4 separate regions of the Homo sapiens genome follow, and regions 2, 3 and 4 are each linked to region 1. The links are contacts of gene promoters, found by promoter capture Hi-C in blood cells and fetal thymus (Javierre and others, 2016). All regions are on one chromosome and are shown on one strand. Each heading gives the region's core, a stretch centred on a gene start or on the middle of the fragment in contact. The rest is flanking DNA. Distances are from core to core; before and after follow the strand shown.

What was found. Contacts are between HindIII fragments. The CHiCAGO score rates a contact against its expected background, and 5 or more counts as called.
Region 2: a fragment that was not itself captured here is called in contact with the fragment with the promoter of PSMD1 in region 1 in 3 of 17 cell types (M2 macrophages, megakaryocytes and M0 macrophages); the score reaches 6.0 in M2 macrophages.
Region 3: a fragment that was not itself captured here is called in contact with the fragment with the promoter of PSMD1 in region 1 in 2 of 17 cell types (M0 macrophages and erythroblasts); the score reaches 7.1 in M0 macrophages.
Region 4: a contact is called between a fragment that was not itself captured here and the fragment with the promoter of PSMD1 in region 1, in 2 of 17 cell types (M0 macrophages and endothelial precursors). The highest score is 6.5, in M0 macrophages.

Annotation. Positions count from the first base shown.
Region 1 is chr2:231,055,442-231,058,314 of GRCh38, forward strand. It overlaps PSMD1 (proteasome 26S subunit, non-ATPase 1), which reads left to right and starts at 1,426. Exons shown (of 25, transcript NM_002807.4): 1 at 1,426-1,600. The coding sequence starts at 1,585. LOC112268432 (a long non-coding RNA gene) reads right to left here and starts at 2,305. Exons shown (of 2, transcript XR_002959456.2): 1 at 1,896-2,305. RefSeq lists a silencer at 1,327-1,516. The HindIII fragment of the contact is 9,212 bases long and covers 1-2,873 here.
Region 2 is chr2:231,446,372-231,449,244 of GRCh38, forward strand. No RefSeq gene overlaps it. Among named protein-coding and RNA genes, the nearest start is that of SNORA75, 8.1 kb to the right of the region's middle. The HindIII fragment of the contact is 7,975 bases long and covers 1-2,873 here.
Region 3 is chr2:231,427,615-231,430,487 of GRCh38, forward strand. No RefSeq gene overlaps it. Among named protein-coding and RNA genes, the nearest start is that of SNORA75, 27 kb to the right of the region's middle. The HindIII fragment of the contact is 1,792 bases long and covers 629-2,420 here.
Region 4 is chr2:231,409,735-231,412,607 of GRCh38, forward strand. LOC124907997 (a long non-coding RNA gene) reads left to right here and starts at 2,562. Exons shown (of 2, transcript XR_007088118.1): 1 at 2,562-2,873. RefSeq lists enhancers at 674-1,279, 1,280-1,884 and a silencer at 2,429-2,768. The HindIII fragment of the contact is 485 bases long and covers 1,201-1,685 here.

The DNA of each region.
Region 1 (2,873 bases), core at 176-2,675:
ATCCCAGCATTTTGGGAGGCCGAGGCGGGCGGATCATGAGGTCAGGAGATCGAGACCATCCTAGCTAACATGGTGAAACCCTGTCTCTACTAAAAATACAAAAATTAGCCGGGTGTGGTGGCATACACCTGTAGTCCCAGCTACTTGGGAGACTGAGCAGGAGAATCGCTTGAACCCAGGAGGCGGAGGTTGCAGTGAGCCGAGATCGCGCCATTGCCCTACAGCCTGGGTGGCAGAGGGACACTCCATCTCAAAAAAAAAAAAAAAGAAGTACCTCTGTAGAATGACACCCCAAGTAATCTGTTTACTTTGCATGCACATCTTCTCGAGCCCTGCCTTTCAATCTGAGCCACAGGCTCTTCAAAAATGTTCAATAATTATATTTAATATATTTTAAACAACCACAGTTTAAGAATTCTAATTTAAACAAAAAAAGTCACAGATACAACAAAATGTGTTATCAAGCACATTTAATTCACTGGCAACCACAAGACATTGATTGTGCCCCTAGGTTACGTAGAAGGCCGTAGAAATGAACTCGCCATCGCTGTGCGATTGAAGAGTTTAGCTTGATAGTGCAAGGCCGGTGGCTGAAAAAAATGCTACCGTTTGCCCTATTCCTTGTCAAGACTTTCTCAGTACTGACTCTTGAAATAAATTGACTTCTTGAAGCTAGCATAAGACTGCAAATGGCCATTGCAACTGCCATTTCAAATTTCTGAAGATGTATTAGAAACGAAGAACCCACTGCCGTCGGGGGAAAGAGGACCTGGGCAGATAGAAGGAAAGAATGGAAGACATTTTTTCTCCCTTGGAAAGGCTTTCGCCATATAACTACTGCACATTTTAATATATTGACAACACTGGACATTTTTCCAAAAGTAAGTAAAAACCTTCATTGTTCAACTTTATAATAAGCCAATGATTACTTGTGGATTCATTATGATAATAAAGCACTTCTATGGGGATTTTCTTTTTTTTATGATAGGTTTTGCTTTAGAAAACAATTGAAAGCCACTTTTCTGGGAAAAAAAACAAAAAACAAAAAAAAACGCTGTTTGCGGCAGCCCCAATTCCCTAAGCATTATCTGGTGGGAGATGTGTTGCAGCGAGACCTCCCACCAGTAGGTGGCACTGCGCGCAATGCTCGCACCTCCCCTCAACACCCTTTCTCTCAGCAATGGCGGGTGATGGTGGGGGTCCTCTCTTTGCAGGGCTGGCCATTCTAATGCCTGACCTCAGGTGCAGACCAGTGTTCCGTTGCGCGGGACTCCTGACCTCGAGGAGGTTTAGAGAAAACAATGGTGTTCTCTGTGTACCCTTCCGCGAGGGCTGGGGAGTATACCGCCGCGCAGAAGACGCAGGCCAGGGGAGAATTCGCGCCGGGCGGCAGGCGGGGTGGCGGGCAGCCCCTGGGCGGGCGGGGTCCTGGCGAGAAGCGAGCCGGCGGCCTGAGGAGGCGACTGACTGAGCAGCGCACCCGGGGAGCAAGGAGGCGCGGTGAACTGAGCGGCCCCTGAGCTGACAGATACACTGCGCAGCTGGAACGGCGAGCGAGCCGACGGGCGAGTGAGGGGCGCAGCCATGATCACCTCGGCCGGTGAGTGCGGCCCGTAGCCAGCGCCTGGAGGGAGGAGCCGCCGCCGCGCCGGCTTTTAGCTGAGTCAGGGCCGGTGACTGGGCGCCTCCCGGCGGAACGCCGGCCTGGGCAGCTTCTTGCTGCCCAGGGCCCACCCCCGGGCCGGGGGGCTGGGAGTCTGATCAGGTCACTGCGTGCTTCTCTGGCTTGAGGGAATCGAGCCGGGTCGACCGCCTCGGCATCCCTCCCCAATCACACCCCAGCGCCAGGACCCGAGGGGCTTCCTGGGCCTTCCCCTGACCCCAGAAGGGCTTACCTTTTTTCTGTGCCTCCCATTCTTGGCCGTGTGAGGTCGTCCAGCCCCAGTTCTTGCCCGCAGGGGGCCGGGGTGGGATGGGCCCCTGTGCCATTGAACAGTAAGGCAAACCCCCCTGATCGGGCAGCCTAACTGCTACAGAAGTGTTTCTGGACGTGGCCGAGCTCCATTCGCCTTAGAATGAAACCCGAAATTAGGTTTGAGGTGGGTCATTTCTGGGTCCGATCCAAGGGTGTTCATTCAAAACACCCAGAGAACTTTTGGGTTCGGCGAAGACCCTAAAGACGCCCTGGAGATACCTTTATACTGAGAGCCTACTTATACCCTTTCGAGGTTATGTGCTCAGTCTGTTGACTGTACATTCAAGAAAGAATGGATGGATCTGCGGAGCAGGTTTCATACGCGCAAACCATTGCATAGGTAGATTCACGTAGTGACATTTGCAATGGAGTAAGTTACAGAGATCAAGTTTCAATTGGAGACTTAAGCTCCCCGTTACAGATTGACTTGCATATAGCTGTCCAGAGCCTTGGTGCTTTTTTCCGTTGCCTATTTACATACCCTTTTCTCATTTTCTTACTCTGTGTTTGACCCACAAAGAAAGCATTTTATTGTAAACAAACTGGTGAGCAGAAGACAGTAATCTGAATGGTAAGGCGATCAAAACTTTATTTTTATGAGGATTGGTTAAGGAGATCGTTGGAGATACTGGGAGACGTAGTTACTTTCAAACATTTGAAGAGCTGTCACTTGTACCTGAAATAAGACTTTTTGTCCCCAAGAGATACAAGTGATCGCGAGATGAATTTTAGTTCAGTATCAGGAAGTTTTTCCAGTCAGAGCTTTGTAAAGATCAAATAAACACTCAGTTTCTTGCCACCTATAGGCCTCATTCTATTTCAAATCCATCCATTACCAATGTTTCTTCTAACTCGGCCCAAACCACCTTCATCTCTTGTCTGGGTTACTATATCAGCC
Region 2 (2,873 bases), core at 260-2,759, 390 kb after region 1:
GTTTTCAAAGAATTTGCTCATTTTATCTAAGTTGTTAAATTTTGTGAAGTAAAGCTATTCACAATATTCCTTCATTATATTGAATATCTGGATGGGGTATGGTGGCTCACACCTGTAATCCCAGTACTTTGGGAGGATAAGGAGGGAGGATTACTTGAGGCTAGAAGTTCAAGACCAGCCTGGGCAACATAACAAGACTCCATTCCTACAAAAATTAAAAAAAAAAAATTTTTTTTAATTAGCCAGGCATGGTGGCATGCACCTGTGGTTTCAGCCACTTGAGAGGCTGAGGCAGGAGGATCGCTTGAGCCCTGGAGTTCCAGGCTGCAGCGAGCTACAGTCATGCCACTGCACTCCAGCCTGGGCAGTGGACAACAGAGCAAGACCCTGTCTCTTAAAAAAATAATAATAATAATAATAATCAGTACAATCTATAATGTGATGATACCCCTTCTTTCATTCCTGATAATGGCTATTTGTGTTTTGTCTTCTTTTTTTCTTGATCAGTCTTGCTAGAGGACTATCAATTTTATCTTATTTATCCTTTCAGTGAACTGATTTTTGTCTTGATTTTTTTACATCATTAATTGTTATTTTTATTATTTCCTTTTCCTATGTATTTCTTCTTTCTTTTTTACATGCTTAAGCTGGAAACAGACAGTTAACTTTAAAACTCTTTTTCTTTTCTAAAGTATTTTAAGTTATAAATTTCCATCTAAGAACTGCTTTAGCTGCATCCCAAAATGTGTTTTTATTGTCATTCATTTTGAAATAGTATCTAATTTCTCCCGTGATTTCTACTTTGATCCATTCAGAAGTGTTTTTCAGAAATGTAATTAATATACAAATGTTTAGGAGTATTCTAGGTATCTTATTATTCATTTCTAATTTATTTCTGTTATATCAGATTGTATATTTTCCAATCCTTTGAAATTTCTTGAGATTTGTTTTGGAGCCTAGAATATTTTGGTGAATGTTTTATGTGCACGTGAAAAGAAGATGTGTTTTTCAATAGCTAGACCTAAATGACCAACAGTTTTCAATTCTTCTATATCATTATTGATGTTTGTCTATTTACTTTATCTGTTACTAAATGAGGGGTGTTAAAATCTCCAACTGTGATTGAAAATTTGTCCATTTCTCTTTATCAATTTTTTGCTTCACAGGTTATAAAACTCTGTTATTGTTTGCATGCACATTTAAGATTGCTATGTCTTTCTAGTAAATTTACCTTTTTTTCATTATGAAATGTTGCTCTGGGCCGGGCGCAGTGGCTCACGCCTGTAATCCTAGCACTTTGGGAAGCCGAGGCAGGCGGATCACGAGGTCAGGAGATTGAGACCATCCTGGCTAACATGGTGAAAACCCGTCTGTACTAAAAATACAAAAAATTAACTGGGTGTGGTGGCGGGCGCCTGTAGTCCCAGCTACTCAGGAGGCTGAGACAGGAGAATCGCTTGAACCTAGGAGATGGAGGTTGCAGTGAGCCACTGCACTCCAGCCTGGGTGACAGCAAGACTCCGTCTCAGAAAGAAAGGTTGCTCTGGCCAGGTGTGGTGGCTCACACCAATAATCCCAGCACTTTGGGAGTCTGAGGCGGGAGATCACTTGAGCCCAGGCGTTTGAGACCAGCCTGGGCAACATAGCAAGACCCTGTCTCTATTAAAGAAAAAATTAAAAGAAAAAAGGAATTTGAAGGCAATTTCTATGCAGATTTTATGGTTTCCTCCTCTGTGTCTCCCTCATTTTCATTATTTCCCAAAATTTCCGACTCACACTCCAACCTGATTCCTCAGCACAGTAAGACATCCACTTTCTGCTCTATTCCCCCGGAGTCACGCAAGTTGGGTGATGCCCTCAGGGGAAAAGCTGGTTAAACATGGGTCTCATCCAGTGTGCTTCCCTTCTTTCCAGGATCGATACCATCTTCCCTGGGTTGCTCCAGTTTTCTATCTGGTATTATTGGAAGACAAATCAACTTTAGAAGTTGATCTTTAAATATTTCGCCCAGGGCCTGGTGCGATGGTTAATGCCTGTAATCCCAGCACTTTGGGAGGCTGAGGCAGGCGAATCACCTGAGGTCAGGAGTTTGAGACAGACTCGCCAGCATGATAAGACCTTGTCTCTACTAAAAGTACAAAAAATTAGCCAGGCGTGGTGGCACATGCCTGTAGTCCCAGCTACTCAGGAGGCTGAGGTAGGAGAATTGCTTGAACCTGGGCGGTAGAGGTTGCCGTGAGCTGAGATTGTGCCACTGCACTTCAGCCTGGGTGACAGAGAGAGACTCCATCTTCAAAAATAAAAATTAAAAAATAAAAAACTAAAAATAAAATAAATAAATAGTTTACCCAGAGTTTTTTTGTTTTGTTTTTTTTGAGACAGGCCTCCCTCTGTTGCCCAGGCTAGAGCGTAGTGGTGCAATCACAGCTCACTGCAGCCTCAACCTCCCCAGTGGCTCAGGTGATCCTCCCACTTTAGTCTCCCTAGTAGCTGGGACTATAAGAGCGTGACACCATGCCTGGCTAATTTTTTTTTTTTTTTTTTTTTTTATATATATAAGGTCTTGCTCTGTTGCCCAGGCTGGAGTACAGTGGTGCAATCTAGGCTCACTGCAACCTCTGCCTCCCAGGTTCCAGCGATTCTCCTGCCTCGGCTTCCCGAGTAACTGGGCCTACAAGCATACGCCACCATGCCCGGTTAATTTTTGTATTTTTAGTAGAGGTGAGGTTTCACCATGTTGACCAGGTTCGTCTTGAACTCCTGACCTCAGGTAATCCGCCCGCCTTGGCCTCCCAAAGTGCTGGGATTACAGGTGTGAGCCACTGCGCCAGGCCCGCCTGGCTAATTTTTGTATTTTTTGTAGAGACAGAGTT
Region 3 (2,873 bases), core at 275-2,774, 370 kb after region 1:
GCCTCAGCCTCCCAAGTAGCTGTGATTACAGGTGTGTGCCACCACGCCTGGCTAATTTTTTTTATTTTTAGTAGAGATGGGGTTTCACCATGTTGACCAGGCTGGTCTCAAACTCCTGGCCTCAAGTGATCCGCTCACCTCGGCCTCCCAAAGTGCTGGAATTACAGGCTTGAGCCACCATGCCCGGCCTAGTCACAATATTTTCCTCAGTCGACCAACGCATAACCTTTTTTTATGTTTGTTTCTGTTTAAAGACACTGAAGTTAATATACAGTTGATTCATTAATTTTTTTTTTTTAGATGCAGTTTTACTCTTGTTGCCCAGGTTGGAGTACAATGACATGATCTTGGCTCACTGCAACCTCCGCCTCCCAGGTTCAAGCCATTCTCCTGCCTCAGCCTGCTGAATAGCTGGGATTACAGGCATGTGCCACCATGCCCAGCTAATTTTTTGTAGTTTTTAGTAGAGATGGGGTTTCACCATGTTGGCCAGGCTGGTCTAACTCCTGACCTCAGGTGATCCTCCTGCCTCGGCCTCCTAAAGTGCCAGAATTACAGACATGAGCCACCACGCCCAGCCTGATTCATTAATATTGGACTCACGGCACCATAACTCACACCTGAATGAAGCTTCTCCAACGCACAGATTTTCTCCCTATAGCACATCACATCCTTCTTGCTCTTAGGAGCACCAGAAAGCTCATCAGCAGTTCACTTGGGGGCCACATGAAGCAAGAAAACCAGCAACAAAAAGCACAAAATACAAAAAAAGTGGCACTGGCTGGGCGTGGTGGCTCACGCCTGTAATCCCTGCACTTTGGGAGGCTGAGGCAGGCAGATCACAAGGTTAGGAGTTCAAGACCAGCCTGGCCAACATGGTGAAACCCCATCTCTACTAAAAATACAAAAATTAGCCGAGTGTGGTGACACGCACCTGTAGTCTCAGCTACTCGGGAGGCTGAGGCAGGAGAATTGCTTGAACCTGGGAGGCAGAGGTTGCAGTGAGCCGAGATCGCGCCATTGCACTCTAGCTCTGGGCGACAGAGCGAGACTCTGTCTCAAAAAAAAAAAAAAAAGTGGCACTAAATAGACCACCAAAAGGACACATGTTTACAGTGTGAGAGCTGAAACAAGAAGGCAGGCTCAGCCGGGCATGGTGGCCCACGCCTGTAATCCCAGCACTTTGAGGCAGGTGGATCACGAGGTCAGGAGTTCCAGACCAGCCTGGCCAAGATGGTGAAACTCCGTCTCTACTAAAAATACAAAAATTAGCTGGGTGTGGTGGCGCATGCCTATAATCCCAGCTACTCGGGAGGCTGAGGCAGGAGAATCGCTTGAGCCAGGGAGGCAGAGGTTGCAGTGAGTCGAGATCGTGCCACTGCACTCCAGCCTGAGCGACAGAGTGAGACTCCATCTCAAAAAAAAAAAAAAAAAAGAATGACATGGACACATATGGAGTAGTTTTAAGGAGCGGAGAGTTTAGTAGGCAAGAAGAAAGGGAGAAGACAGAAAGAAGCTCCCCCATACAGAGACAGAAGGAGGGGGGCTCCAAAGTCCAAAGAGGGAACCCCAAGTGTGGTGGATACCAGCCAGGTATATGTAGAGGCTGGAGGAAGCAGTGTTTGATTTGCATAGGGCTCAGGGGATTGGTTTGACCAGGCATGTCATTCATGCAGCCCGTGAAAAAGCTGGCCCTCCCACCCTAGCCTTTTAATATGCAAACGCAGGGTGCCATGATGTTCTACACACATGGGGATATGTAGGGGTGGCCATGTTGCCAGGAACATGTGGGGCAAGGGCAAGAAGTTCGCAGGAATCGCCATGTTTGGGTGGACCCAGTTTCTAATGGCCTTCATTTGCATATCAAAGGTTGCCGGCCTGGCTCTAAGAGCTGCTTTAAAAACGAAAACTTCCCAGGGACCCCTTTTCCTCTCTTATCTGCCTAAAATAATTTCTTAACTCCTACAACACTATCATACCACATTACAGTTGTAGTATTGAAGAAAGAGACATATGATAAATACGTATTATCCAGTTTCAGTTTTGGCAATGAACATGACAGTCCACAAAAGCCACCATGTTTTTTGTGCTGAAAAATTCTTGTGAATGGAAGAAGGAAACCAGCAAAATGAAAAGGATCCCTTCTGAAAATGCATTTAAAGATGCAAGGGTTTTTTTGTGTAAGGAAAGCTCAATTCAAAAATAGCTGGGGCCAGGTGTAAGGGGCTCACACCTGTAATCACAACATTTTGGAGTGCCAAAGTGGGAGGACAGCTCGAGGCCAGGAGTTCGAGACCTACCTGGGCAACATAGCAAGACCCTATCTCTTTAAAAAAAAGAGAGAGAGAGTTGGAGCACTTGATTTTTGTCAAGCACATCTGTGTGAAGAGACCAGCAAGCAGACTTTGTGCGAGGAATAAAGCTTTTTAATCACCTGGGTGCAGGCAGACTGACTCTGAAAAAGCAGTCAGCGAAGGGAGATAAGAAAGGGGCAGCTTTATAGGGTTTGGGTAGGCAGTGGAAAGTTACAGTTAAAGGTGGTTATCTATTGTTAGCAGAGGAGGGGGTCCCAAGGTGCATGGTGTAGAGATCATGGGACTCATTGTCCAGAAGAAGAATGTCCCAGGGTCAATTGATCAGCTGGGGCAGGGCAGGAAAAAGTCATAATGGTAGAATGTCATAAGGTGGATTAATTAGTTAAGGCAGGAACTGGCTGTTTCACTTCTTTGTGATTTTTCGTCTGCTCTAGACTTCTTGGCTCCTGCAGGCCATCTGGACTTATATGTGCAGGTCACAGGGGTTATAATGGCTGACTGTCAGGCCTCTGAGCCCAAGCTAAGCCATCATATCCCCTGTGACCTGCACGTATACAT
Region 4 (2,873 bases), core at 193-2,692, 350 kb after region 1:
CCCTGAAGGATGAGGCAGAGGGAACCACATATACCAAGGGCTGCTGGGAGCAGGGTGGATGCATTCTGAAGCGGAAAGGAGCTCCTCTCGGGGCTGGACCTGGGGTGAGAGAAGGGGTGGGAGGCTGGGAGGCAGGCAGGGCAGTTTCTCAGGTCTTCTAGGTTCAGGAGTACTTTAACTTTATCCTGAGCACAAAGGGACAAAGAGCAGGGGTTCACGGCAGCCTGAGGGAGCAGAGGGCAGTTTTGAGGCACCTCCACCCCTCCCTCTGGCGCACTTTGGCCCATTCTGGCCAGCTCCAGTGGGGCCCCACTCTGGAAAATCAGGCATTTAGTTTTGCTTCCTGGTAATGATAACAACTGACATTTTATGGAGCACATTTCATATGCCAGGCACCCTGGTAAACATTTAACGTGTAGTCAATATGACTTTAACTCAGGGTACAAATATGGTTACTTTTTAATTTTTCTCATTGATTGCTCAAATCCCTCATGTACCATTATTGGCAGAAAAATCCAATATCAGCCTCTTGGAACCCACTCTCAAATTGTCCAAGAACCTCAGGGATTTCCCTCCTCCAAAGAGAGGGTTCTCTGGAAAGTCTGAGCAGTCATCTCCAGTTGTTCCCTCTCTCTCCACACAGGGGCGCTGTGGAACAGCGGGCCTGCACAGTCCTGTGGCTTCTGAGGCTTGGCTACCTTCACTGCACAGGCTGCGGTGGGGCCTATGCTTCCAAAACAAAGTTACCCTTCTCTCAGTCACCCTCACAAGCTCAACGACCTTTCCCCAGAGAGCAGCAGCATGCCAGGGGTGCTGGGTCCTGTGGCCCCCCAGTCAGCTACACAGTCTGTGGGGGAATCCCACAGACTCAGGTTCTCTCTGGCCTGGTGAAGCAACTTTTTAGACAGTAGATTTTAGTTGGTCCCAGGGTCTTAACTCTTTCCTCCTCAAAGGCCCTGGCTTTGCAAAATGGTTCCCTCCTCCCCGGCAACTGGCTGTGCATTCCAAGGGGCCTTGAAAAGGGGTAGCCTTTGTCAGTCCTCAAAAAGTCCAGTTCCACTCTTCCCCCAGGGTAATGGGTGCCTACTCAGCCACATTTACATAACTAAAGGAGACCACTCAAAGAATCCTACTCTTAACAAAGAAAGCTGTTCCTAGGTGACTTATTCTGTGCACCTAAACTGAGAAGGAGCAGGGGGAAGCTTCTGGAATCCTGTTATACACCATGTTCAAAGTAAGAAATGGAGGGCTCTAAGAGAAGGATCCCACGGCTATTGTGTGACAGGCACGATTTGAACTCTGTGCCCTGCACACCTAACCCCCATACTCTACTGTCTCCCAAGAGCCTCCAGCCTCCCATCCTTTTTCCTTAGCAGTAACTTAGTCACAAATATCTGTGTTTGTTGTTTCTGTCTAAAAGGAGGAAAATGTTATGTCCAATGAGCGATTGAAACTGTGATGGTTGGGGGAGCCCAGCGTTATTAGGGCTGTAAGAAATAAATGTTTCCAGAGAGTTATTTAAGCTATTGTGAAGAAAAACTTTTCTGTTCCAGTGAAACACTATACATTATCTAAAGCACAGCCAGACCTGTCTGCTTCCAGCCCCATTCACGGTCTTTGAGCTATTTTGCACCTCTTTTTAAGTTGCAAGTACTGAGGGCTTTGCAAACTGTCTTGTCAGGTGAAGCTTCCATTGACTTCTCTTCCACCCCCCACCAACACCCCCACGGTGGAAAAACCAGTTTGCCGCTGTTTGCAATTCAATTCCTTCACTCCATATAAATTTGTGCTTTTTGATGTCTCCTTTGAACCAGATATAACATCTACCTTGTCCTTTTTATGAGTAAAATAAATCTTTAATACATGCTCATTTTTTATTTCTGAACAAGGGTCATGAATCTACCTTTTTCTGAAAATTGTCTTTTACCAATTGCCTTTATGTGAAAATGAACACAGATACATTATCGAACAGAATGCAATTTTTGCTTATATTTCTAAAACAAAACTTGAATCTTGGAATACATTGTATACTCACTGAAGACCCTTCCAAAGTGAGCCAAAGCTTAGAGCTCAATCCTTTTAGAGGGTTTTGCCCCCCGGGAATTTGAGAAAATATCTAGTCCAGATCGCAACCAGACAGAATGAATCCGAATGAGTGAGTGGGTGGGGCGCGAGCCCAGGCATTTTTTATCGCTCCCAGGTGACTCAAGTTGGGAACTACCGGCCTGGGCTGGGATTGACTGACCCTGCCGTGCAGCCTGTGACCTATCACAAATCACCTTGGCTTTGTTTTTCCTCGGTGCGGCCGAATCCCACAGGAATGCGTGGAATCCCTGCCCTCACCCATGGCGAAGCTGCCCCCCTCGGGCTCCGCCTGCCCCCCGCGGCTCCTCGTCGCCGGGCAGCCAGGAGCTGCTGGGTGGGCGCGGGCGTCCCGGGGCGCGGTGCGACCCAGAGCCCCTCGCGGAACCCGCCTGGGCTGTGCAGGGGACAACGCGTTCGGCTGTCGAGGGTGGGGGAGCCCTGTGTGTGTGGTGGGGGTGGCATCCGATGGATCCCGGGGGCCTGCGGAGGAGGTGGGCATCTCGGCGCCACCCGGTGCGCGCCCCGAGCGAGGGCATCTCCCCTCGAGACCAGCCCGCGGAGCTGCGCGAGGCGTGGGGTAAGGCGGCGTAGACCTCCCAGTGCCGGCTGCAGGGCCGCGGGTCGGGGCGGGGCCCCGCGAGGAGCAAGGGGCTGGCCGGGCTGGAGGGCTGGGTGAGTCCCCGCCCTGGCAATCCCAGAAGAGGGCAGGGAGCGCCCCCAACTGACCGCCGGGGGCATCGTGACGCTGAGGTGGATGGGAGACTGCACGATTTGAGCAGGTTGTGTGA